Linked DNA regions of Homo sapiens: all the other regions are linked to region 7. The links are contacts of gene promoters, found by promoter capture Hi-C in blood cells and fetal thymus (Javierre and others, 2016). All regions are on one chromosome and are shown on one strand. The core of a region is centred on a gene start or on the middle of the fragment in contact, and the rest is flanking DNA. Distances in the headings are between cores, read along the strand shown. Region 1 overlaps TBC1D1 (TBC1 domain family member 1). Region 2 overlaps TBC1D1 (TBC1 domain family member 1). Region 3 has its middle 3.3 kb from the start of RELL1. Region 4 overlaps TBC1D1 (TBC1 domain family member 1). Region 5 overlaps TBC1D1 (TBC1 domain family member 1). Region 6 overlaps TBC1D1 (TBC1 domain family member 1). Region 7 holds the start of KLF3 (KLF transcription factor 3).

What was found. Contacts are between HindIII fragments. The CHiCAGO score rates a contact against its expected background, and 5 or more counts as called.
Region 1: a contact is called between a fragment that was not itself captured here and the fragment with the promoter of KLF3 in region 7, in 9 of 17 cell types (endothelial precursors, fetal thymus, M2 macrophages and 6 more). The highest score is 12.3, in endothelial precursors.
Region 2: a contact is called between a fragment that was not itself captured here and the fragment with the promoter of KLF3 in region 7, in 1 of 17 cell types (fetal thymus). The highest score is 9.0, in fetal thymus.
Region 3: a contact is called between a fragment that was not itself captured here and the fragment with the promoter of KLF3 in region 7, in 1 of 17 cell types (fetal thymus). The highest score is 5.6, in fetal thymus.
Region 4: a fragment that was not itself captured here is called in contact with the fragment with the promoter of KLF3 in region 7 in 2 of 17 cell types (M1 macrophages and M2 macrophages); the score reaches 5.2 in M1 macrophages.
Region 5: a fragment that was not itself captured here is called in contact with the fragment with the promoter of KLF3 in region 7 in 3 of 17 cell types (M1 macrophages, fetal thymus and M2 macrophages); the score reaches 5.6 in M1 macrophages.
Region 6: a contact is called between a fragment that was not itself captured here and the fragment with the promoter of KLF3 in region 7, in 3 of 17 cell types (M2 macrophages, endothelial precursors and M0 macrophages). The highest score is 7.5, in M2 macrophages.

The regions. Positions count from the first base shown.
Region 1 is chr4:38,063,966-38,067,142 of GRCh38, reverse strand. The region is part of intron 14 of TBC1D1 (TBC1 domain family member 1); the gene reads right to left. Among named protein-coding and RNA genes, the nearest start is that of PTTG2, 110 kb to the right of the region's middle. The HindIII fragment of the contact is 8,274 bases long and covers 1-3,177 here.
Region 2 is chr4:37,976,866-37,979,849 of GRCh38, reverse strand. The region is part of intron 2 of TBC1D1 (TBC1 domain family member 1); the gene reads right to left. Among named protein-coding and RNA genes, the nearest start is that of PTTG2, 18 kb to the right of the region's middle. RefSeq lists silencers at 1,912-2,211, 2,232-2,281, 2,402-2,521, 2,592-2,661. The HindIII fragment of the contact is 3,989 bases long and covers 1-2,984 here.
Region 3 is chr4:37,688,105-37,691,190 of GRCh38, reverse strand. No RefSeq gene overlaps it. Among named protein-coding and RNA genes, the nearest start is that of RELL1, 3.3 kb to the right of the region's middle. The HindIII fragment of the contact is 987 bases long and covers 1,132-2,118 here.
Region 4 is chr4:38,115,555-38,118,770 of GRCh38, reverse strand. It overlaps TBC1D1 (TBC1 domain family member 1), which reads right to left. Exons shown (of 22, transcript NM_001396959.1): 18 at 2,817-3,061; 19 at 579-738. Among named protein-coding and RNA genes, the nearest start is that of PTTG2, 160 kb to the right of the region's middle. RefSeq lists enhancers at 279-448, 80-581. The HindIII fragment of the contact is 5,058 bases long and covers 1-3,216 here.
Region 5 is chr4:38,046,914-38,050,118 of GRCh38, reverse strand. TBC1D1 (TBC1 domain family member 1) reads right to left here. Exons shown (of 22, transcript NM_001396959.1): 11 at 221-501. Among named protein-coding and RNA genes, the nearest start is that of PTTG2, 88 kb to the right of the region's middle. The HindIII fragment of the contact is 9,326 bases long and covers 1-3,205 here.
Region 6 is chr4:38,081,926-38,085,182 of GRCh38, reverse strand. The region is part of intron 14 of TBC1D1 (TBC1 domain family member 1); the gene reads right to left. Among named protein-coding and RNA genes, the nearest start is that of PTTG2, 120 kb to the right of the region's middle. The HindIII fragment of the contact is 3,537 bases long and covers 1-3,096 here.
Region 7 is chr4:38,662,297-38,665,571 of GRCh38, reverse strand. KLF3 (KLF transcription factor 3) reads right to left here and starts at 1,373. Exons shown (of 6, transcript NM_016531.6): 1 at 1,111-1,373. It overlaps KLF3-AS1 (KLF3 antisense RNA 1), which reads left to right and starts at 679. Exons shown (of 16, transcript NR_171644.1): 1 at 679-778. RefSeq lists silencers at 633-982, 1,043-1,642, 1,653-1,922, 1,953-2,472, a promoter at 1,111-1,913 and an enhancer at 3,184-3,275. The HindIII fragment of the contact is 3,872 bases long and covers 1-2,991 here.

The DNA.
Region 1 (3,177 bases), core at 213-2,712, 600 kb after region 7:
AGCACTTTGGGAGGCCGAGGCGGGCAGATCACAAAGTCAAGAGATAGAGACCATCCTGGTTAACATGGTGAAACCCCATCTTTACTAAAAATACAAAAATTAGCTGGGCGTGGTGGTGCGCACCTGTAATCCCAGCTACTCGGGAGGCTGAGGCAGGAGAATCGCTTGAACCCAGGAGGCGGAGGTTGCAGTGAGCCAAGATTGCACCACTGCACTCCAGCCCGGCGACAGAGCGAGACTCCATCGGGGTAAAAGAAAAAAAAAATCTTGTTAGTACTCATGCTGCAAATATTTTCATTTATATAGAAGTGATATAACAAATTCACTTGGAAAAAGTTCATTTAGAAGCAGTTTAATGCATCCTTTGGCTTTATCTCAGGATCTCACAAAGCGGAGAGCTCCCTGAATGTGCCATCACTGTAACCCCAGAGCCCCCAGCTCCCCTCCAGGGGGGGCATGCATAGCTTTGCCACCTCCAGGAGATGTCTGCTCTTTCATTCAAATACATGGAGGCCTGGCGCAGTGGCACAACCTGTAATCCCAGCATGTTGGGAGTCTGAAGCAAGAGGATTGCTTTAATTCAAGAGTTCAAGACCAGCCTGGGCAACATGGTGAGACCCTGTCTCTACAAAAACTGTAAACATTTAGCAGGGCGTGGTGATGCGCACCTGTGGTCCCAGGCACTTAGGAGGCTGAGGCAGGGGACTGCTTGAGCCCAAGAGGTCGAGGCTGCAGTGAGCTATGATTGTGCTACTTACTGTACTCCAGCCTGGGTGACAGAGCAAGACCCTGTCACAAACAAACAAATAAATAAATATAAATAACATAAACCACTCAACTAGGAAGCCTCTAATTTTGCTAAAAAAAAAAAAAAAAAGTTGCTAATAATGCCCCAAATGTATGCTTTATTAGCAAGAGTTAACATTTAATTCTAGAGTACTTCCAACATAAGATACATTCCTTCACACTAACACAGCCCATTACTGTACAAGCACTAATTTAAGTGAGCAAACCTATCAAAACTCTTGATAATTTACTCGTAAAACTGTCAACGGTTCATTACTGTGATTAAGAGACTAGATTTAGAGCTAAATAGATTGATACGAATCCTGGCTATGTGAACCAAGAGCTGCAGGAGACATAACTGTGTCACTCAATCTTTCTGTCCTCATCTCTTAAAAGATGGGCAGTAAGTCCAGTTGTGGTGACCCACGCCTATAATCCCAGCACTTTGGGAGGCCGAGGTGGGCGGATCACCTGAGGTCAGGAGTTCGAGACCAGCCTGCCCAACATGGCGAAACCCTGTCTCTACTAAAAAAGATACAAAAAATTAGCTGGGTCTGGTGGCAGGCGCCTGTAATCCCAGCTACTAAGGAGGGTGAAGCATGAGAATAGCTTGAACCTGGGAGGTAGAGGTTGCAGTGAGCCAAGATCGTGCCACTGCACTCCAGCCTGGGGGATAGAGCAAGACTCTGTCTCAAAAAAAAAAAAAAAAAAAGGCGGTAATACCTATGGGGATCATCTAATTGTGTAAAAGTGAAAAACACAAAATGCTTAATACATGATAAAGATAATTACAATGGCTATTATTAATATCTGATGCGCTTCATTGCAAAGAAAATAGGCTTTGTTGCCTGTTTCATCCCCTGCCATAGAACTCATTTCTAATTTTCAATGTGCTGTTTATTAATCACTCAGGACTTTTTTGGAATTTTTATCAGAATAGGAGGTCCCCATGCTTATCAGCTGCTGCGGCTTGAGGGCTCCACCCAAGATAATTCATCTCCAGCATCAGACATTTGGGGGCGTAACCCAGTAACTGGTGGTTCTACAAGTCCTCCAGGGGATTCTGGGGCACAGTTTGCAAACAGCTGACAGAAATGTAGCTACGGGCTGGGTGGGTGCAGTGGCTCACACCTATAATCCCAGCACTTGGGGAGGCCAAGGCGGATTGGCCTCTTGAGGCCACTTGAGGTCAGGAGTTCGAGACCAGCCTGGTCAACATGGAAAAACTCCGTCTCTATTAAAAAATAAAAATAAAAAAATTAGCCAGGTGTGGTGGCAGTTGCCTGTAATCCCAGCTACTCCGGAGGCTGAGGCAGGAGAATCACTTGAACTCAGGAGGCGGAGGTTGCAGTGAGCAGAGATGGTGCCCCTGCACTCCAGCCTGGGTGACAGAGCAAGACTCCATCTCAAAGAAAAAAAAAAAAGAAATGTAGGCTGGGCATGGTGGCTCACGCCTGTAATCCCAGCACTTTTTGGGAGGCCGAGGCAGGTGAATCGCGAGGTCGGGAGATGAAGACCATCCTGGTCAACGTGGTGAAACCCCGTCTCTACTAAAAACACAAAAAATTAGCCGGGCATGGCAGCGCACGCCTGTAGTCCCAGCTACTTGGGAGGCTGAGGCAGGAGAATTCCTTGAACCTGGGAGGTGGAGGTGGCAGTGAGCGGAGATCGCACCACTGCACTCCAGCCTGGGCGACAGAGCAAGATTGTCTCAAAAAAAAAAAAAAAAAGAAATGTAGCTCTGTGTGAATGCTACCAACCTGTGGCCCTCTGGCTGCCTCCCAGCTGCAGGGTCCCTGATGGAGGCACCATGGAGACTTGGCTTCCCCCAGCCTTCCCACACACTCATGAGGGCAGTGCCAGAAACCAGGGCAGCCTCCGTTTCAGCCTAGGCAGAAGAAAGGCACATGGCAGCCTGCAGGAAAGCCTAGGGCCAGCAGGACCAAACCCTTCCCATCCCTGCTGGCTTAACCATCCCCGTGGGTAGAATCACAGGTAAGGCCCCCCTGGAGGAGGAGTTTCCACACCAGCTCACATTCAACACACAAAAACACATACATCAATGTTCACAGCGGTATTATCCGTAACAGCCAAAAGTGCAAACAATCCAAATGCCTCTCGACTGGTAAAGGATAAACCATATGTGATGTCTCTATACAACGGAATATTAATAAGTCATTAAAAAAGAATGGATTACTGGTATGTATTATGACATAATGAATTTTGAAAACATGTTAAATCAAAGAAGCCAGACACAAAAGACCACATATTATATGATTGCACTTAGATGAAGTGTTCAGAATAGGCAAATCTATAGAGACAGAAAGTAGATTAGGGGCTGTCTATGGTTAGAGGTGGACGGCAGTAGATTGGCAAGTGACAACTACAGGT
Region 2 (2,984 bases), core at 204-2,703, 690 kb after region 7:
CAAGATTGTGCCATTGCACTCCAGCCTGGACAACAAGAGCGAAGCTCTGTCTCAAAACAAAAAAAAAGAAAAACACATTCGTGCTCAGGTATCCATGTGAATCAACCGACACCCACCCCTTCTCCTTCCCCACCAGGTGTTCAGCTGCAGTTGCAAAGGTCAAAATGAAAAAGGAAAAGGAAAGTCAGCTGCGTAACTGGATGTGCAGGTGTTTGTGTGAGGCCTGTGCTCATGTGCAGCTGTGTGTTTCTGAAGGGGCATTCTGAAGTCAAATATAACAACTTCAAGATTATTCACATTGTGTACATTATCTATGCCTTTTGTCTTTGTCTTTAGGATATTACCTAGTTTGTAATGTAAAGTGTGTTAATGACTTGCCTCTTCACCGTAAACCACATCAGTTCCATAGAACATCATTCTTACAATCTATAACTCCAAGAAATAAACTTCCAAAGACTAATTTCGTATTCTAAAATCTTTCACAGGATAACACGTTATCTATAAAAATCATTCAATTTCGGGATATAATTTGTAATGCATGCACCACCTACAGGAAATGAAATATAAAATAACCACATTTTAAAAATGTATGCTAAGAGGTATACATGAATTTGCTCCAAAAACATTTAATAGTTTTTCCGCTGTTGTCCTGTAATCGAAATAATAATTTTGAGGGCGGGTGTGGTGGCTCACATCTGTAACCCCAGCACTTTGGGAGGCCAAGGTGGGGGCATTACTTCAGCCCAGGAGTTCGAGACCTGCCGGGCCAATATGACAAAACCCCATCTCTACTGAAAATACAAAAATTAGCTGGGAGTGGTGGCGCACAGCTGTAATCCCAGCTACTGGGGAGGCTGAGACACAAGAATCGCTTGAACCTGGTAGGTGGGGGTTGCAGTGAACTGAGATCGCACCACTGCACTCCAGCCTAGGTGACAAGAGTAAGACTCTGTCTCAAAAATAATAATTTTGAAATAACAAGATTCAGAATCCAAATTAAGCTACCAGCCTACATTTCCTCTATATAAACTTTTCCAACGTACTGACACTCGGAGAAGGCTAACAATCGTCCTAAAAGTCTGTGATGGTTTTTGAAATGACTTTTTAATGACTCAAAACGTTTTTGAAAGTCATCTCATTTTACCACCAGCTATGTTTCAGGAAGTGATTCTAATGGAATGTTATTTACCTAGTAAGAAAATCTACCTAAAAACTTTTGCCCATCTAAAAACTAGTGTTATCTAGTTTCTGTGTCTCCAATTTTGTATCACTTAAATCACAGGCAAAGCCATACCTGCTCACAAACAGGTATTCATAAAAATGTAATTAAATAAGACTATAAAAGCATTGCATGATAACTCAAGACATAACCACCACCTAATTAAATTATTAATTGGTAAAGCCTCACAGTATGGCTAACGAGTTGTGAGCTTATTACTCAACCAGCCATACACAGGAAACAAGCCCTGGGAAGGCGCCGGCCAAGGGACTGAGTGCATGGGGTGACAGCAAGATGCCCTAACGACCAGCGAGCCTTTCAAGGTGGCGAGGGTCGCATCCTTTAAAACACATTCAGACACCTGGCACTGCAGGAGTGGATAAAAAGAATGCTATTGATGCTATTACTGTGTTCTCGAACTGGTGGGAACTCGGGAAATCTACACTTATGCCTTCCTGTTAGCAACAGTGCAACTGGCCTGGATTTGCACCACCCAGTTATCTCGAAGGCGCTGATGTTCTGAAAATAAAACTTTGTGGGAATGGAAAGTTAAAAACTTCTATTTAAAACTCAGACCTCAGAACATGCCCTTTGAAACCAGAGGGTTAAAAACGAAAGACAGACGCCCCTTGTGGGCACCAGCCTCTGGGCATCCTCGGCGCCCTGTCCAGGCGGCCCAGCGCAAGCCGACTTCTGCGAGGGAGACACACGAGGGCGACACCCGCGAGGGAGACACGCGGGGTCGACTTCCGCGAGGTCCCGCGCCGGGGAGGCACCGAGCGGCAGCTCCGCGGCGCGGGGAGCGACAGGGGCCGGAGGAGCCGCCTGCTGGGTTCGGGCTCCCGCAGGGGTCCCCGAGTACAGCCTCAGTCTCCCCAACTGTGAAATGGGCGCCGCTACCTCGCCCGTCCTCCCCACAGGGATCTGGGAGACTAATGAATGAGAAACGCGCGGCTAACGACCTGGTCGCGCCCGCCGCTCGCCCCCCGCCGCGCCTGGCCTCCAGCGGCCCGGCCCAGCCCCGGCCCGAAGGTTACAAATGTTCCAGCCCCGCGCCTGCCGCTCCGCTCCGGTAACGGGCGCCCGCCCGACGCCGCCTACCTTGGCCACCCAGCTGAACAATGGTGACATCGCGGGCCGGGCGGCGGCTCTTCGCCCGCCGGCTCCCGCTCACTCCCGCCGCCGGCCCGTGGGCCCGCGGGCGGCCGGGGGCGGGCTTGGGGAGCGGCGGGGCCGGGGCATCGCTCTCCCCGGCGGCGGCGGCGGCGGCGGCGGGCTCCACCCAGTTCGTCACTGCCCCGAGAGGTCGCGCCCGCGGGGCGGCCAGGCAGAGAAAGGGAAGTGGGAGGGGAGAGCGCGGGGAGGGGGTGGGCGGGGGGAGGAGGGGAGAGGAGGGGAGGGCGCGCAGCCGACCCCGCCCACCCCCGCGCTCCGCTGCTGGCGGGAAGTTGGGACATGCTGGGGTCGCCCCCTTCCGAGATGCCCAGGGCTGCGCAGGAAACCCTGGAGGCTGGGGACGCGCCTTTCCAGGCCTCTGGGGTCCGTTTCGCACAACTTTCAGAAATCTAAGAATTCCTCCCTCTCCGAGGTTCCACAAAAGCCCCAGAGTTGGAGCTAACACAAAGCCCGCCCAACTTTCCAGGGGTGACCCCCACCCCCAGGGCTTTTCTTCCTAAGCGCTTTAGATTGCTAGTAACAAAAGACCAGTGTTCCCCAGCCCCTAATACCTTTATATAATCAAAGGTGGTTTTCTTGGAGTCAGGAA
Region 3 (3,086 bases), core at 376-2,875, 970 kb after region 7:
ATGTATGACTGTGCAGTCTGCAGTCTGTACCATGCAAATTCTTTTACTGTACATACATTCATACACATTTCTCATCTCTCCATCAATCCCAGTCCTTTAAGACCCAGCTCAAGATGCACCTCTTTCATGAAACCTTGCTCAAGAGCTTCCAGTACAATTCTTTTGATCTTCTTGGGATTTCTCCAGCTCAGTGGTTATCAACTGGGTGTGATTTTGTTCCCTAGAGTCATTTGGTAATATCTGGAGATATGTTTGGTTGTCACAGCTGGGGTGGGAGCTACTGGCATGTAGTCAGTAAAGGTCAAGGATTGTAGCTAGACATCTTACAGTGCACACAACAGTCCCCCACAACAAAGAATTACTGGACCAACAATGTCCACAGTGTTGAGAAACCTTGCAGTCTAGCCTGACTTAGCACCCCTATCATTTGATTACTCATTATGGTATAGAATCTTAGGGCTGGATGGGAACCTTTAGAAATCATCCTATCATCCTTGTATTTTATAGGTTGGAAGACCAACCCAAAAGAAGCTGCAGAGAGTAGAGTGAGCGAATCTTTGGCAGGGCTGTGTCCCCTGACCCCTGGGCTGTTGGCCATTTCTTTTTTTTTTTTTTTTGAGTTGGAGTCTTGCTCTGTTGCCCAGGCTGGAGTGCAGTGGCGCCATCTCGGCTCACTGCAAGCTCCGCCTCCCGGGTTCACGCCATTCTCCTGCCTCAGCCTCCCAAGTAGCTGGGACTACAGATGCCTGCCACCACGCCCGGCTAATTTTTTGTATTTTTAGTAGAGACGGGGTTTCACCGTGTTAGCCAGGATGGTCTCGATCTCCTGACCTCGTGATCCACCTGCCTCAGTCTCCCAAAGTGCTGGGATTACAGGCGTGAGCCACCGCGCCTGGCCAGCCATTTCTGTTCACTTATGCAACAGTTCCCTTTCTCCCAGGTAGGCTTAAAACTTTAAAAGCAAAGTTAGAATCTTTTTCTTAAGCTTGTAGTGACTCTCCCCTCCAACCCCTCATGCTCAGCCCAGTACTAGGAACACAGCACATATCTGTTGTCATATCAAAATAGCCCCAGATTGTGTAAAATATTTTATTCCCCTTCAGACATATTTTTTAAAAAGAAATGTAAGCTTATCTCCTGCATATAACCTCTCAAAAAGAGAGATGAGTACATCTAAATCACAAAAGAAATCCTACAGAGGCCTTCTGCGGAAGCATGTTCAACATTAATTAGAGTAAATACCAGCCTAGTGAGGCTTATGCATTTAAATGATGGTGATGAAAATCACCAGCTTAGCAGTTCAGAGGAAAACAGGAAAGGTTTCTACTAAGGGGAATGATTAACTGAATCCTTACAGAGAAACTGAAAACAATGAAAATCAGAAAGGACATCACATTGTATATGTTTGTAAATTTGATCCTATACACTCTGATTTTTAATCCATTCCCATCAATCAATAAATTATTCTCACTGAGGAAAAATATGTAAGCAATTGTTGAAACAGAGTTCAAAAAGGCTAGGTTAAACATGCAATGAAGGAATATGAGAACAATACTTTAGATTGCAAAAGAGGAGCTAGTTGGCTGGAGTTCTGCATTTCAGAGGCAGAATAGTGCAAGAGGAGGTTGCAAGTGTGGGCCCAAGGGAGCTGATCCTGGATTTGCATCCTGGTGGTGCCAGGGAGAGGCCATGTGACTCAGGTAAATGCCCTAATCCCTCAGCTTTGAAGTGAGGAGTGTTAACAATGATTCCCTAAATATAAAATCATTGTGAGGAATTGATGAAAGAATACAAAAAGAGTTCCCACCATAGGATTGGGCTAAATCTAAGGGCAGAATGAGGATTATTGTTTTTAATTAATGACAGTTATTCTTAAGAATTATTAAAACTCTACTTTTGTTTCTGAAAAAATGGAAATACAACTTAGTTTTAAGATTTCCATTTTATGTCCTCAGAAGAAATATGACATTCCCTTCATAATAGAGAATAGAAGTTCCATTACATTGGGGTTCTTACTTTTAAAATAAAACAGTGGATTTTTAGATATACATATGTAGAAGCTATTTAAATTGTATGAATAAATCTGTAGGGTTAAGGATATGGAAAATAATTTAAGCTTGATTTTCTTTCTTTCCTCTCTCCTTCCCTTCTTCACTTTCCTCCGTCCCTCCCCCTCTCTTCCTCCTACCCTTCCTTCATTCCTTTAACAAGACATACAAATGCATGTATACGGGGTACGTGAAAGTAAGACATTTATAGAGAGTGTGTCAAGCAGGTGTTATGGAAAGTTTAGGAAGAGAAATTTCAGAGCCCTGGGTTTCAACCCTGGCTCATAGTAGATATGTCAGGCAGATCACTTAACCATCTCTCATCTGTAAAACAAAGGGCCTGGTAGATAATGGGTAAGGCTTAAGTACTAGATTTTTATATTTGAAGAGCCATAACAGATATACAATTCAAATGTGTTGTTAAAAATGATCCCGTCTTTCTTTTTTTTTTTTCTTTTTTTCTTTTGAGACGGAGTCTCGCTCTGTTGCCCAGGCTGCAGTGCAGTGGCACAATCTCGGCTCACTGCAAGTTCCGCCTCCCGGGTTCACGCCATTCTCCTGCCTCAGCCTCCCGAGTAGCTGGGACTACAGGCGCCCGCCACCACGCCTGGCTACTTTTTTGTATTTTTAGTACAGATGGGGTTTCACCGTGTTAGCCAGGATGGTCTACGATCTCCTGACCTCGTGATCTGCCTGCTTCGGCCTCCCAAAGTGCTGGGATTACAGGCTTGAGCTACTGCGCCCAGCCAAAAACGATCCCATCTTTTTAATACTAAGTCCAATCTGTGGGAAAAGAGTGAAACATGATTCAATTTTGAAATGACATTTTACATTTTGATTAGATTTCTTGATTCAAGCATTTTGTTACATTCTAACTTACAAAACCAGAGCTGGCTTTATAAGTGTGTGACCTGTGCAACTGTGTGTTTAGGAGGGCTCCACAATCGATTTAATGTTGTGTTGTTGCCATCTTGAAATTCTTAACGATTTTTGAACAGAAGGCCCTGCCTTTTCATTTTGCATTGTGCCCTGCAAATT
Region 4 (3,216 bases), core at 438-2,937, 550 kb after region 7:
GTGGGCTCAGGGGCAAGAGGCCTTCATGAAGTGTCAAGGCTGAGCGGGGAGAGCGAGCCATCCACACGGAGGTGTTACTCAAGGTCCTGACACTGGTCTCCAAGACAGTGACTTGGGAGAAAGTGTAGAGCCAAGGGCAGGGCAAGAAGAGAAAGGGGAGGAAGAGATGCCAAGGGAATCTAGAAAGGGCCCAGAGGCCCACAGTCAGCATCAGTCAATACTCACAACCCAGAGTGGCTGAGGAAGGCAATTCATGAGAAACATACACCTGTGGCTCCTCAGCCAAGTCCTCCAAATGTCTGCTCTAGGGAGACCCTCATGGTGAGCGATCGGATCTACACGGATCGGATCCACATCCCACAAGATGAAGGCATCTAGGGAAGCCCCGTGATTATCAGAAGTTAAGGAGGACTCCAAAGTCACAAAACCCACCCCTGACTAATCTTAGACTATCAAACAATACCCTGTTCTGGTAAGAGCTACAGGTATAAAAATAAGAATCACCACGGAGAGACAGGAAATGTTTCCCCTCTAATAAGAGAAGGCTGGTTCTGGCAAACAGATTTACTAATGCTCACCAAAGACTCTGGCTACGAATCCCAGCGGGAACTGTGAGGCAAACATGGTGAGGAACCAGGGGGCAGCGTAGAGGCTGGGGCCGATCTCGTGCTCCTCCAGGTGATTGTAGAGGTCTCTGTGGTAATCATGAAGCAACCTCGAGAGCTGGTACATCTGGATCTGCAGGAAGACAGCCACAAGGGCTGAGAATTAGGGATCTGCCACAGCAATAAAGTTATGCCTACTGCTCACAGGGTGGGTGTAAGAGAAGACTTACTAGAACTTTAAACATTCGATTTGGCTTGCGATCCACTGAGCTCAGCTACTAATTCATCCAACAAGTGCTTCCCAAGTGCCTGCTGGTGCCAGGCACTGGCTGGGTGTAGGCCCAGGACGCTAACGCTGGGTCTTCTACTGCCACTTCCTTTTTATTGTTCCCTTGTATTCCTCCACTAAGAAGATCTAAAAATCTGTCTTGTGCAAACATTTCATAAATTCTCTTACAAATACATACTCTTTGCACAACTCAAGCCTGGAGGAATTAGAAATAAGAAGCCAGTCTCTTTACTAAGACTGAATTAGGGGCATCTTATGATTCCATAGGAATCCATTGTACATGTTCACTCAGCAAGTTCCCTCTGGACCCCTGAAATTACTCAATAGGCAGGAGAAGCATAATTTCTTTTGGTGTATAATATATGGAATATCCAGATACCTGGCAAGTTAAAACAAGAAGACAAGTGTGCATCTTAAGATGAAATAAAAACTTTTTCCAACTAAAGTGGAACTCCAACTTCACAGAATGACATGATTCTGGCAGAAATCTCATGCCAGTTCCTAGTAGTGCCACCAAGAGTTACAGGCTCACAGAGGCCCGAGAGCCAGCCCAGATCTGAGCAGTGCCACGGCCTGAGCCTAAAGAAACAACAACCTACAGAGGGTCAGAATCCGCTAAGATCCACCAAGTTGGATATGTCCTATCTAAACTGAGAGAAAGAAAACAAAACCGTTTTCAGAGGCTCAGATAATATAATCCCATAAGCACCAGCTGTGGCTCTCCCATATCGAAGACTGTCTAATCAACCAAAGGCACCACCCCAAAAGAGTTGTGTGTTACATAAATTATAGAAAACTCAAAAATTCCACTGCCTGGTGACCACTGTCTTTAAAGTTAATAAAGGGAATGTAGGAAGAACCTCACAGTACATGTGGAAAGTGTTATGTGGTCAAAATCTTTCAGTGAATGAGTTCCTTCTATGATATTTGCATTCACGTGGTCCATGTTCACAGGTCAAGGTGAAAAGATTTTGAATCACATAATTTGGTGCTCTCAAAGCAAGTCCTTGGCTCTAATGTATTCCCTCCCAGGATACTCTCTAGAGCTCTGAAGGCATAGTATCTTACTGGTAGTAAATGAACATATCAACATGTGCTGCAACATTTAGGAATATTCCTGAAGCAGGATCCAGAGTTTTCCCTCTGACAGGCAGCAAGAGCAGCACGTGGTATTTGCAATACGCTACTGTGTTTGGTTTTCTCTGACAGAATTGTTCATTCAACAAATACTTATGGGGTGCCTACTTCAACCCACGCACTGTTTCAGAAACTAGGAACTCGGCTCCAAGACCCGTAAGATCCCTTCCCTCTCCTAAAGTTCACAGGCTATGAAAAATCAGAAAATAGACAGGGAGATGATTATGGAAACAAGATCATTTCTGGCAGTGGCTGTGTTGTGCAAAAGAAATCAGCCAGGATAACGTGACGCAGTGTGCCCAAGGTGGAAGTGGGGAACACAACATCAGGGTAGTCAGAATGAGCTTCTCCCAGGATGTGATATTTGAGCTGAACCTGAGATGACAAGGGTGGGGGTGAGGCAGAGGAAGAGCAGATGCAGAGGCTGGGAGGTAGGTCTGAGATCATCTGATGGCTGATGGGGGCAAGAGGGAAGGCCCTAGAGTCAGAGAGGCCTGGGTTTCCAGTCCAGCTCTGACACTTGCTAGCTGTGTGACTGGGCCCAATTTATAATCTCTTGGAGACTCAGTTTTCCAATCTACAAATTGAGACGATGAACAGTGTCTTCCTTAGAGGGAAGTGCAGATGAAGCGCTTGGAATAATGCCTAGCACAGAGTCCTTTATCAGCAGTGACAGCTATTACAATGTTACCTGACGGTGAAAAAGCTCCTGAGGCACATCTGGAGAGGGATAAGAAACATTCTTAGCATTTTGTTGTATTAAAGACATAAGGAACACTCTATACCTGTAAAATAATCATGTCTGGCCGATACTGTTTCCGCAGCCCCATGTCAAACATCAGAAACTTGAGCATTTTAAACGCCTCTTCCTCACTCATATGAAGAAGCAAAATGCCTGCTACAAAGCTGAGACCTTGGCAATATCCCACTTCCTGGTCTAGAAGTGAGTAGGCCTTCAAAATGTTGTAAAGCGATAGCTGTCCTGCTCCAAGCTGGGCAGAGAAGTATGGGTGTGTAGGAAAGGTTCGCCCTGTGAAAAGAATACATATTAGTTGTAATAATAAAAACAAAAAAAGAAAGCCTATTGAACCAGAAATCCAATGTGCTTCAGATTAAGCAGCAAAATCTTTAGAAGCTGGATCATAATATCAATCAGTCTTTGCCACTTCCTCTGCAAACGAAGTC
Region 5 (3,205 bases), core at 496-2,995, 620 kb after region 7:
TTTTGCTCACTTTCACTTGCTTCCTGACAATACAAGTACCCATTGCTTGTATACTCACAAGCAGCTCGAACGAACATGTCACTGCTTCCAGTTTTATCTCCAAACCAAGAGTAAAGCCTGACTCATTTCTCTCACTCAATAAACATACCTGGGATGCACATACCTGGCTAGTCACAGATATGCCCCAGCTATTTATGCAACAAATTTAAACAAATCTTACTTTCGTTCATGAGGCGTCTCTGTGCTCACTGAGTGATACCTCATAAGTTTCCTTTGCGAAACCCCCGGGGACCCCCGGGCAGGTTGTGGAGGTTCCTGGCATTCGATGGGGAAGTGACTCAGGGTGTTTGCTCGCCTCCTGAAGGCCTGCTGGGGCGACAGCGGAGCTGGCTCTTCTGGGAGATGACTCTCCGAGTCACTGGACAGGTCCTCCGAGGAGCCGAGGAGCTTAAAGGAGCTCTCAGAGATGGGCAAGGCCTCCTTTTCACACACAGATGGCTCCTGGGAGCAAACACACAGCAGATCAGACACACCATGGGGAATATGTGGGATTTATAAATCTCTAGTTCCTGCACGGGCAAACATTGCAGTATCTAAGTATGTGTTCTGATTATAATGCCATCTAGAAGCCACCACCAAAAGCAGAAGAAAATGAAGGTCCATTAAATAAATGCCCGCTCCTCAAGGACACACTGCTGGCTTGCTGGAGAAATGGGGAGACTGGCCAAGTGCAGGAGTGAAGGACATAAGCCACAATCTGTAACGTTCTGAACAACGCCATGAATAGTGCCCTCTCTCTAGAAAACAGGACTGTTTACTGCAGCTTCTAAGGGGTGTGAGTGCTGGAGAACTTGTCTCCACTGCTTAACCAAGTTCTTTATCTTTGCCACATGTGTTCACTCATGTTAAACCCACATTTTAAGGCTCTCTCCGAATCTGATCTACTGTTGAGATTCGACTTCATAATTTGAGATTAAGAACTGTATCAATATTCTTAGAATATGGAAAATCACTCTGTAGGCACTTACTGCTGCAATTCAGGGCAAATAATTTCTTTCTGCACCTCAATTTCTTCTGTAAGAGGGTAAAGTAAAAATGTATCTGAGTTTCAAGAACAAAGCAAGATGATACAACCAAAAGTACTTTTTATGTTGTAAAATGTTACACAAACATAAGTTATTGTTTTATTAGGTATGCAATAAATCTATGGAGTGAGTGCTCAAACATTTGTTGAGAATCATGACAATATTTTAAAGTTGTATGCCTTCACGATGCACGCTTTTTCAAAGGAATGAACTACTACCACTCAAGCAAACTGATGTTTAACACTGCACCCAGGACGTGGCTAGTGGCCAATATATTTTTAATATATTCAAAATATTCAAAAAGAGGAATTGTAGCAGCTTGCTCCTATTGAAATTGTTGGAAGAGAAAAAATAAATCAACAGGAATAGAGTAAACAAGAATGAATGCATCTAACAGTGGACTGGAGACTGAATTCTACCTGTTCATTTACACAGTTGAGTGCCTTTTAGGTAACAAGTATTGAGGGTTTTAATTTGAAAAAAAAAAAAAAAGAAATGTGTTTACCAAAGGGAGAAGTTACATACATTTAATTGTATAAGAATTAGGAAAAAATTCCCAACATACTATGAAATATTGATTACTTTCATAACTGAAGTTTTTCATTCTTCAGGACTCAACAGTTGTGAAGATTCTTTTAAGGATTTAAAAGTCTCTCTAAGACAATACATCACAGAACACAATCTCCATCATGCAAACCTGTTGATCTAAATTCTTACTAATATCCCTCCAAATCATATCAAAGAGCTAACCCTTAGCTTAATTGGACAACTGAAAGGGCCATTTTCATTTGTCAAGTTTCAGGGCTATTTGGTTTCTTTGCAACTCCTAGGTGATCAATTTTTTAGAAGGGATCCAATTACATAAAATAGAATATAGTAGTTTCTCAATTCAAGATGAATAAAAGAAAGATGTAAAGTACACTTAAACATATACAATACATACAAGCAGCTTCTGAAAAGTTGCATCTCTCTTAGAATGACTCTAGAAATTGCAATCTTAGACAGACTTTTAAATCCTTTTAAAAGAATCTTCACAACTATCGAGTCCTGAAGAATGAATATGTATATATTCCTAGATCTGCCTTTTGGAGAAAAATAAAAAGCAAGCAATAAGGCTTACTGGAAAGCCCACTGAGTGACATGAATGTCTTCATGGTATGTCTATTGACACTGGTCTGTCTAGAATGCCTTCTTCTCTGTTCACTTCCATAGGCACAATTCCTACACCAAGATTTAGTCCAAAAGCATCACTGCCCCCTCACCCCTCACCTTTTCCCTGGTTCCACTGACCAAACCTAACTTCCCTTCCCCTTGCTCTTCTGACACTGAAGTTACCAATGTCTCTTATTTGTAACTTCTGGGCTCCTACCACACTCTGCTTGATGCTGGGGCTGTTTCTGTATCTGTCATCTCTCTCCTCCTAGGTAACTTCCTACATGAAAGGGGCGGTGTGTGGTTCATCTGTACACAACAAATAAGCAAATAGCCTTCCCACACTTGCAATGAATTGCAGGGTGGGATCAGTGTGTATTAGATGGAGGCTGGACGACACTATGTTCCCCTGGATTTTAACTCAGAAACTCACATTTACAAGACTGCTGTCTAGGACCTCACTCCCCAGAGGCGGTCTGCAGACCAGGAGCAGCAGCATTGCCTTGGAGCTTGTCAGAAATGCAGCATTTCAGGGCTCCCCCCACCCTGCCTACTGAACCAGAATCTGCACTTTAACCAGTCTCAGCTACTCAGGAGGCTGAGGCAAGAGAATGGCCTGAACCCGGGAGGCGGAGCACCTGAAATTTGAGAAGCACTCATCCATCTAAGGAAGTGTTTCTCAAACTGCTCCCTCTATCATGTTAGTAGGTGGTACAACTGAGTAGTTTGCCATGAGCATTTTAAAAATAAAATAGAACAAAATATCAGTATGTATTGTATGTTGTTCACAGTAAATATTGTTTTGTGAACTTTTAATTTTGTGTGTGAATGTGTAGGTATGTGTGTTTGTGAACTACGCCACAATGTTAAATGTGCTTCTTACTGTAGGTTAGAAAAATTCTGAAAGCCATATGTCTAGGAGGGATGGCAGAGGACTGTAAACCCTGCCTGTGGTAAGGAGCTGGCCT
Region 6 (3,257 bases), core at 79-2,578, 580 kb after region 7:
GGTATGTCGATATTTTAGATGCCAAATTATTCCCCAACAACTCTGTGCTGTTGCATTCTTTCTATCTGCACACAAATGTGTGGGGAAGAGGATGACATTGCATCATTGTTATGAACAGAATCAATGCCATGATCGAGAAAGACAAAAAGCAACGTGCACACCACCTCCTATCTGCCCAGTATCTGGCTCTCTCAAGTGCAGAATACAGGGCTTCTTTCTTGCACTTTCACAAAGCACTGACATTAAGTTCTGAACTGCAGTTCTCCTCCTTTTAAAGACACGACATTAAATCACATGTTAAGTGCCCTGTAAGAAAGAGGAGCTCTAGAAGGAAACGAGTAGACAGATCCTTATTCTCCAATTTTCTGGCTTTTTCTGTGTGTTACCCACCATAGAGCATTTTATAACTCTCTTCATCCCTCTTGAAAATTCTGAACTCCATGCGAAAAAAAAAAAAGAAGTTAAAAAAATTCCAGTTATTCTCAAACCTCTGTTTGAACAACATAAATCGATTCTGGAAAGGAGAAAATTGAACATTAAATCTCTGGAGAAAAGTTAACAACAACGGGATTAACATCTGCAGCGTCTGTTGTTACGAACAGCTCAAAATTTCTTAGAAAAAAACAAAGTAAAATGACCATGTAGACTTAATGTTGTCATATTGTTTACAAAGTATGAGCAGCTTTACCTCTACTACAACAGAAAGCAGAGCCCAGGAGGCAGAGATTTCTGTGTTCCCTGCCATATCCCATGCCTGGGAAACAGCAGATATGCATGGAATATTCAATGAATGAACAGATTCATTTGCCCAAGTCCACTCTCAACCCTGCCATGACTTCTGTGGATCTTTTATGGAAAATACTCCAAAGAGAACCTGATTATTTCCTACAGTTGCATTATATGACAGTCTAGCTAGAGGAAAACAGAATTTTTTAAAGACAACATTCATGGCCGGGCATGGTGGCTCACACCTGTAATCCCAGCACTTTGGGAGGCCGAGGCGGGCAGATCATGAGGTCAGGAGATCGAGACCATCCTGGCTAACACGGTGAAACCCCGTCTCTACTAATACAAAAAATTAGCCGGGCGCCATGGCAGGCGCCTATAGTCCCAGCTACTTGGGAGGCTGAGGCAGGAGAATGGCATGAACCCGGGAGGCGGAGCTTGCAGTGAGCCAAGATAGTGCCACTGCACTCTAGCCTGGGCGACAGAGCGAGACTCTGTCTCAAGAAAAAAAAAAAAAAAAAAGACAACATTCATTTGGTATAAAGAAATACTGTTAAGTTGTTGCCTCATGCCAGGCATGCTGCTAGAAATCCAAGTATGAATCAGGGTAGCAGAGAAGTACAAGACTACCAAAATAAGGGAAATACAAAGAAAGTGTTCTGGAAGTTCAGCAAAAAAAGATGAATTTCAGCCGTTTATAAGGTCAAGAGCATGGGCCCTGGAGCCAGGTATCTGGGATTGAACCTGGCTCTACCATGATCTAGCTACTCAACCTCAAACAGGTTATCTGATCACTTGCCACCTTAGTTTCCTAATCTGCGAAATCTGCATAAAACTGACTAGTTCATAGGATTATTGTGAGCATTAAGTAGGTAAATGTGTGGAAAAAAACAAGCCTGCACACAGTAAACATTTAATAAAATGTCAACTACCATTCTTCTTACCATCATTGTTGTCAGTTTTTGTGGAAAGTGGGGTGGTTCTGGAAGAACAGGTAAAATCCATACAGGTTTAATTGATGGGAGCCACTTTAGGTAAAGAACCAGCATAAACAAGATGTGCAGGTAATTATTAACTCATCACTGATAATGACCCATTTTGTCTAACGACCAGATAGTATGCGCCTGAATATAGAAGACAAGGCTGGCTGACTCTTGGTTGCTTAAGGTCTAGTCAATCCACATATTAATTGGTTAGAAATTGGGAATTCCAGAAGATTGGGGGTTTTTTAAGCAAAAGTGATCTCATATATACATTCTTTAGCACTTTAACCATATCCTGGCAGGCAGGGAGTGCACAGCCTAGTGGATCAGACACACATGAAAGGCCACTACCAAACAGTGAGAAGAAGGGCTCGAAAAAGAGCTATGGACACAGAACAGAGCACCTAACTCTGCCTGAGATGGGAGCCATACGGAGGGGAAGGGTGTGATGAGGAAAGAGGTGCACACACACTTAAAAACAGAAGCCAAGATAAGCAGAAACAAGGACCAGGAGCAAGAGGCCTGCAGATCTTTATCCCCACTCCCTCCCAAAATAGCCATTTAGGGTAAACTTCCAAGGCTGTGTAAGGATGACTTAGAGATGAGGAAGAAAAAAGTCCTGACTCAGTCTGGTTAGAGGTCATGACAACAGCTCAGAGGAGCACTGAAGACCACACGGCAGTGGGAAGTCCAGGGAAGAGAACCAGGAAGAGGCACAGAGAACAGGCCTGGGTGGGCGAGCCCAGGGCACAGAGCACCAAGAGCTCTGCGCAGCCCCAGTGATGGGCGGCTGGTGGCTCTAAATGGGAGGTCTACAGGAGCTGGAGAAGGATCAAGAAAAAGCTGTAGACAGGAGATAACGCATGGGAGAAAATTATGCTTGGAAAGAAGTGGCGTTTGTTTTTGCATCTGCAAGGGGAAGGAAGCTGTATTTTTTGAGGAGCTGAAAGTCAGGGCTCTCAGTTCTTGATTAAAGACAACAAAACTAAAGAGAAACAAATATTCCGCCTCAGCCAGAATCTTAAGTGCTGATCTTTGTAACAGTTTGCCCTATCCTATTACCATTTCTGTAACACTGATTTTCAACTGTGGTTCTTGTAATTTTATGAGACATGGTGGGGTGGAAAAGCCCACCATGGCCCCTGGTCAGTGCCACCAGGATGAGCACCTGAGGGCTGTGTCTGGGAAGCTGGGCCTTGCCTCCCCAGGGACTTCCCACCAGCAGCCACGTCACAGTGGCGACCTTCGCCACCCCGCCCTTATTTTCCTTCTTTCTTCAGTATTGTGGGGAAACTGTCAGTGCTCACAGGAACATGGAGCTGAAAGGGACACTGGAAAATGACTTAGCTCAACTCCCCCTCTCTTCCCAGATGTGGAAACTGAAGCTTAAAGAGGTCCGACGTCACATTTTCTGGGCACTTACTATGTGCTGGGCAGTGTGCTTTACAAGTACCCCACTGATTTCATCTTCACCACCAACGGATAAGCTAGGAATTGGTTTTATCCCTCCACGGCAAGACATGGGACACAGAGCTAATTAGGTGGTGA
Region 7 (3,275 bases), core at 124-2,623:
TTTTAGTGAAATACAAGAAGGTGAGCAATTTCCAATTTCCGTTTAACTTGACTTATTAAAAATAAGTCTCATTCACATTCTTCTAGTATTATTGTATACTGCTATAAAATTTAAACCAGAAAAGTGCTTCTCCTTGTCAGTAGCTATCTGCCCAAAAAAATGAATATGACAATTCCAGATCTCATCTGCCATCTCTAAGAAAGCCACTTGGAAATGTTAGGTAGGTCCCATGGGTCCTGATCCAGGGATCTGTCCCTGGGTCCCCATCAGGCTCGGCTGCAGGCAGTTGCCTAAGGCGTCTTCCGCCTTCAGCCACGCTGCAATCCTTGCTCCAGGCACTGCGGCAGGTTCTCTCCATGCCCCCAGGAAGACTCTCCAAACCCGACCAGCTCATTTCTCCTGCCCCGGAGGATCCAGACGCCCTGGCAGCTCCTGGGCTCCAGAACCGAGAATGGGATGCTGCCTCCAATCCCAATTGCCCTAAGTTTCTTTCCAGAGGGCCGGGAGACTGCTCCAAGTTTGCTGTGGCGGGCGAGCGGCCGCGCGCCGTGTCCTGGGAGGGGGGCGGCGGGGGGCGCGGGCGGAGGGAGGGGAGGGGAAGGACGCGGGAGCCTGGGTTGTGGTGGTGGTGGGGGGGCACCGGGAGGGGGAGGAGCAGGAGCGCGCGGCCGCGGCGCTACCTTTCTCCAAACAACGTTGCCACACGCGGAGAGCACGGAGATTTCTGGGGCTTTGGAGGGAATCGTGAGCGGGCGGGAGGAGGCCGGGGACCACACAGGTGAGCCCCCGCCCGCGCCCTGCCCGGGACGGCGGCGGGCGCTGCCAGCCCCGCTCCCCCGCACCCGGGGTCCGCACGGTGCCTCGCCTCAACCCCTCACTTTTCACCGCGAACCCGTGACCCCCTCCTCCTTGCTTGCTCTCCGCCCCCACCCCGGCTAAGTGTAGCCGCCACACTTTCCCAAGCCCGCAGGCGCCCCCCCCAACACCAGCGCTGCACCCCCGACCCATTCCCCGCGGCCCCCTCCAGGAGAAAAAATGAAACCAGACTGGCCGAGGAGGGGGGCGGCAGGGACCAGGGTGCGGAGCAGAGGTGAGGGAGACGGGACTTACTTTGCGAGGCGCGGTGCAGGGCGCCGCCGACGAGAAATAAAGGCCCCGATACGGGCTGCCTGGAGCCCCCCGAGCGCAGCAATGTCAGGGCTCCAGTCCGGGCGGCGTTGGCGGCCGCAGGGGACGGGGACGGGCGCGCGTGCGGCGGGCGCTCTCGCTGCGCTCCGGCTCGGGCCCCGGCTCCGCGCGGCTCCGCTCCTGGCTCCCCTCTGGCTCCTGGCACCAACTCCGGGCAGTCACATGACGCCGGCGCCGCTCGCTCTGCGAGCCTCCCGGGGCTGGCGGGGTAAGTAGAGGCTGGGACCCGGGGTGGGAGGGTCAGGGAGGGGAGAGGGAGCCGCCGCGGCCGCCCGGGCTGGGCGGGTCCCCACCCACTTGGGTGGAGGCAGCCGCCGGAGGGGTCGGCCGAGTCACTCGCGCAAACACGCACCCCGCCCTGCGCCCTTCCCCCGCCACCCCCGCCTCCCGCGCCGCCTCCGCCCCGCCCCGCCCAGTCACCCGGGGACGGCCTGACAGACACTCATTATTCCCCGGAGCCGGGCGCCGCCCCGCCGGCCCAACCTGTCCCACGAGGCGCGGCGCGGCCGTGGGGCTGGGCGTGCGCGGCGCGGCCTCCGCCCCCCGCCCGCGTCCCCGCCCGCGTCCCCTCCCCGCGCCCTCCTCCCCGGAGTCCGCGCCCCGCCAGCCCTCCCGCCCGGCCCAGCCGCCGCGCCGCCGCCCGAGCCCGGGGGGAAGGAAGGGCGGCGCTGCCCGCTCCGGGCGTCACACGGCTGCGGCCCGCTGCGCTGCTTCCAAAACACACAGCCGGGCTCGCGGGCGAGCCGAGGCGGGGGGCGCGGGCTGCCAGGGCCATCGATCAGCCGGCTCCAGCGGGAAGGGCGGCCCCGGGCGCGGCGGGAAGGGCTGGGCCCCGCGGCCGGCGCGGCGCGGCGCGGCCCCTCCTCGGCTGAGCGCACTCAGCTCACTGCAAGAGAAAAGCCGAGCCGAGGCGGCCGCGGTGCAGGAGCGAGTGGGCCGGGCGGGTTCGGGAGGGGAAGAGCGGCCGCTGGGGCGCGCCGAGCCTCCCTGGCCCCGAGTCGCCGGGGTCAGGGGACACCCTGTAGGCGCGCTCTTTCTTTGTGCCCTGGGGCGACGGGTCCCCCTGGCCGGCGGCCCAGGCGGCGCCCCCCACCTCGTGGGACTTTTCTTTGAAGGCCCGGAGACCCCTGGGGCAAAACTCCCACGGGCCAGGCCTGCCGCTGGAGCTAAAAAGCGGCATTTGCGCAGTTGGGCTTGCCTGGAAACTTGGCAAACTTTGGTCGGATCCTCCCCTGCAGAGCGAGGGCCTGGCCTGGCGACCCCCTCATTTCAAGTCGCTTCTAGGGACCTAGCGCCCTAAGCTCAGTGGCCTTCAGGGTGCTGCGAGCGAGCGGGGCGGCACAAAAGCGCGTTCGGTCCAAGCCAGGCCCCTTCGAGGACTTTGTGTAGATTGGTACCTAAGTTTAATGCCTTTTGAGTTTCTTTTTAAACAGTATTAATGTAATAATTAATGTAATAAAAAGAACAAAGGACGAATTCGTTCGATTGTTTTAAGTTCTGTGTAATGTTTAAAACCGCCCCTGCTTCAGTGTATGGCTTATTATTGCTTCAAGATGTTTTAAAGGCCCTTTAAGTTGACCCATCTCGCTTTGATGCTTCATCCAGACATCGTGCTGCTTAAAACGGAGTGATAATAGTATATTTCGAGCCGCTTCATGTAGCTACACAGTATTGTAAAATTAGTACTCGGTAACCTCAAGTAGTGAAATCGCATATTTTAAATAACGCAAGTCCAGGAAAGGCCACGTGGAGGATACCCAGAACCGACGCCGGCTCATGGGACGTCGTGCTGTCCCATAAGCTTCATCTTTAAAATGTAAAGGGTGTGAGTTTTTTTTTTCTTCATAATGAATAAAAGACATTCCAGAAAAAAAAAGAGTTGGATTCGTGTCAATTACTAATTGCCATTTATTGATCACTGACATCATTAAATGGCTGATTGGCTGCCTTAAGGTTTGCATTAGCGGAACACCGTGCTAGGAATGGCTGGTGAAACTGGCTCATAGTAGGTGCTCAAAAAAGTACGTTTTTTTCTCCAGGGACACAGTGACGAGAACTTGAAGCACATAAACCATGTTTTTTACCTT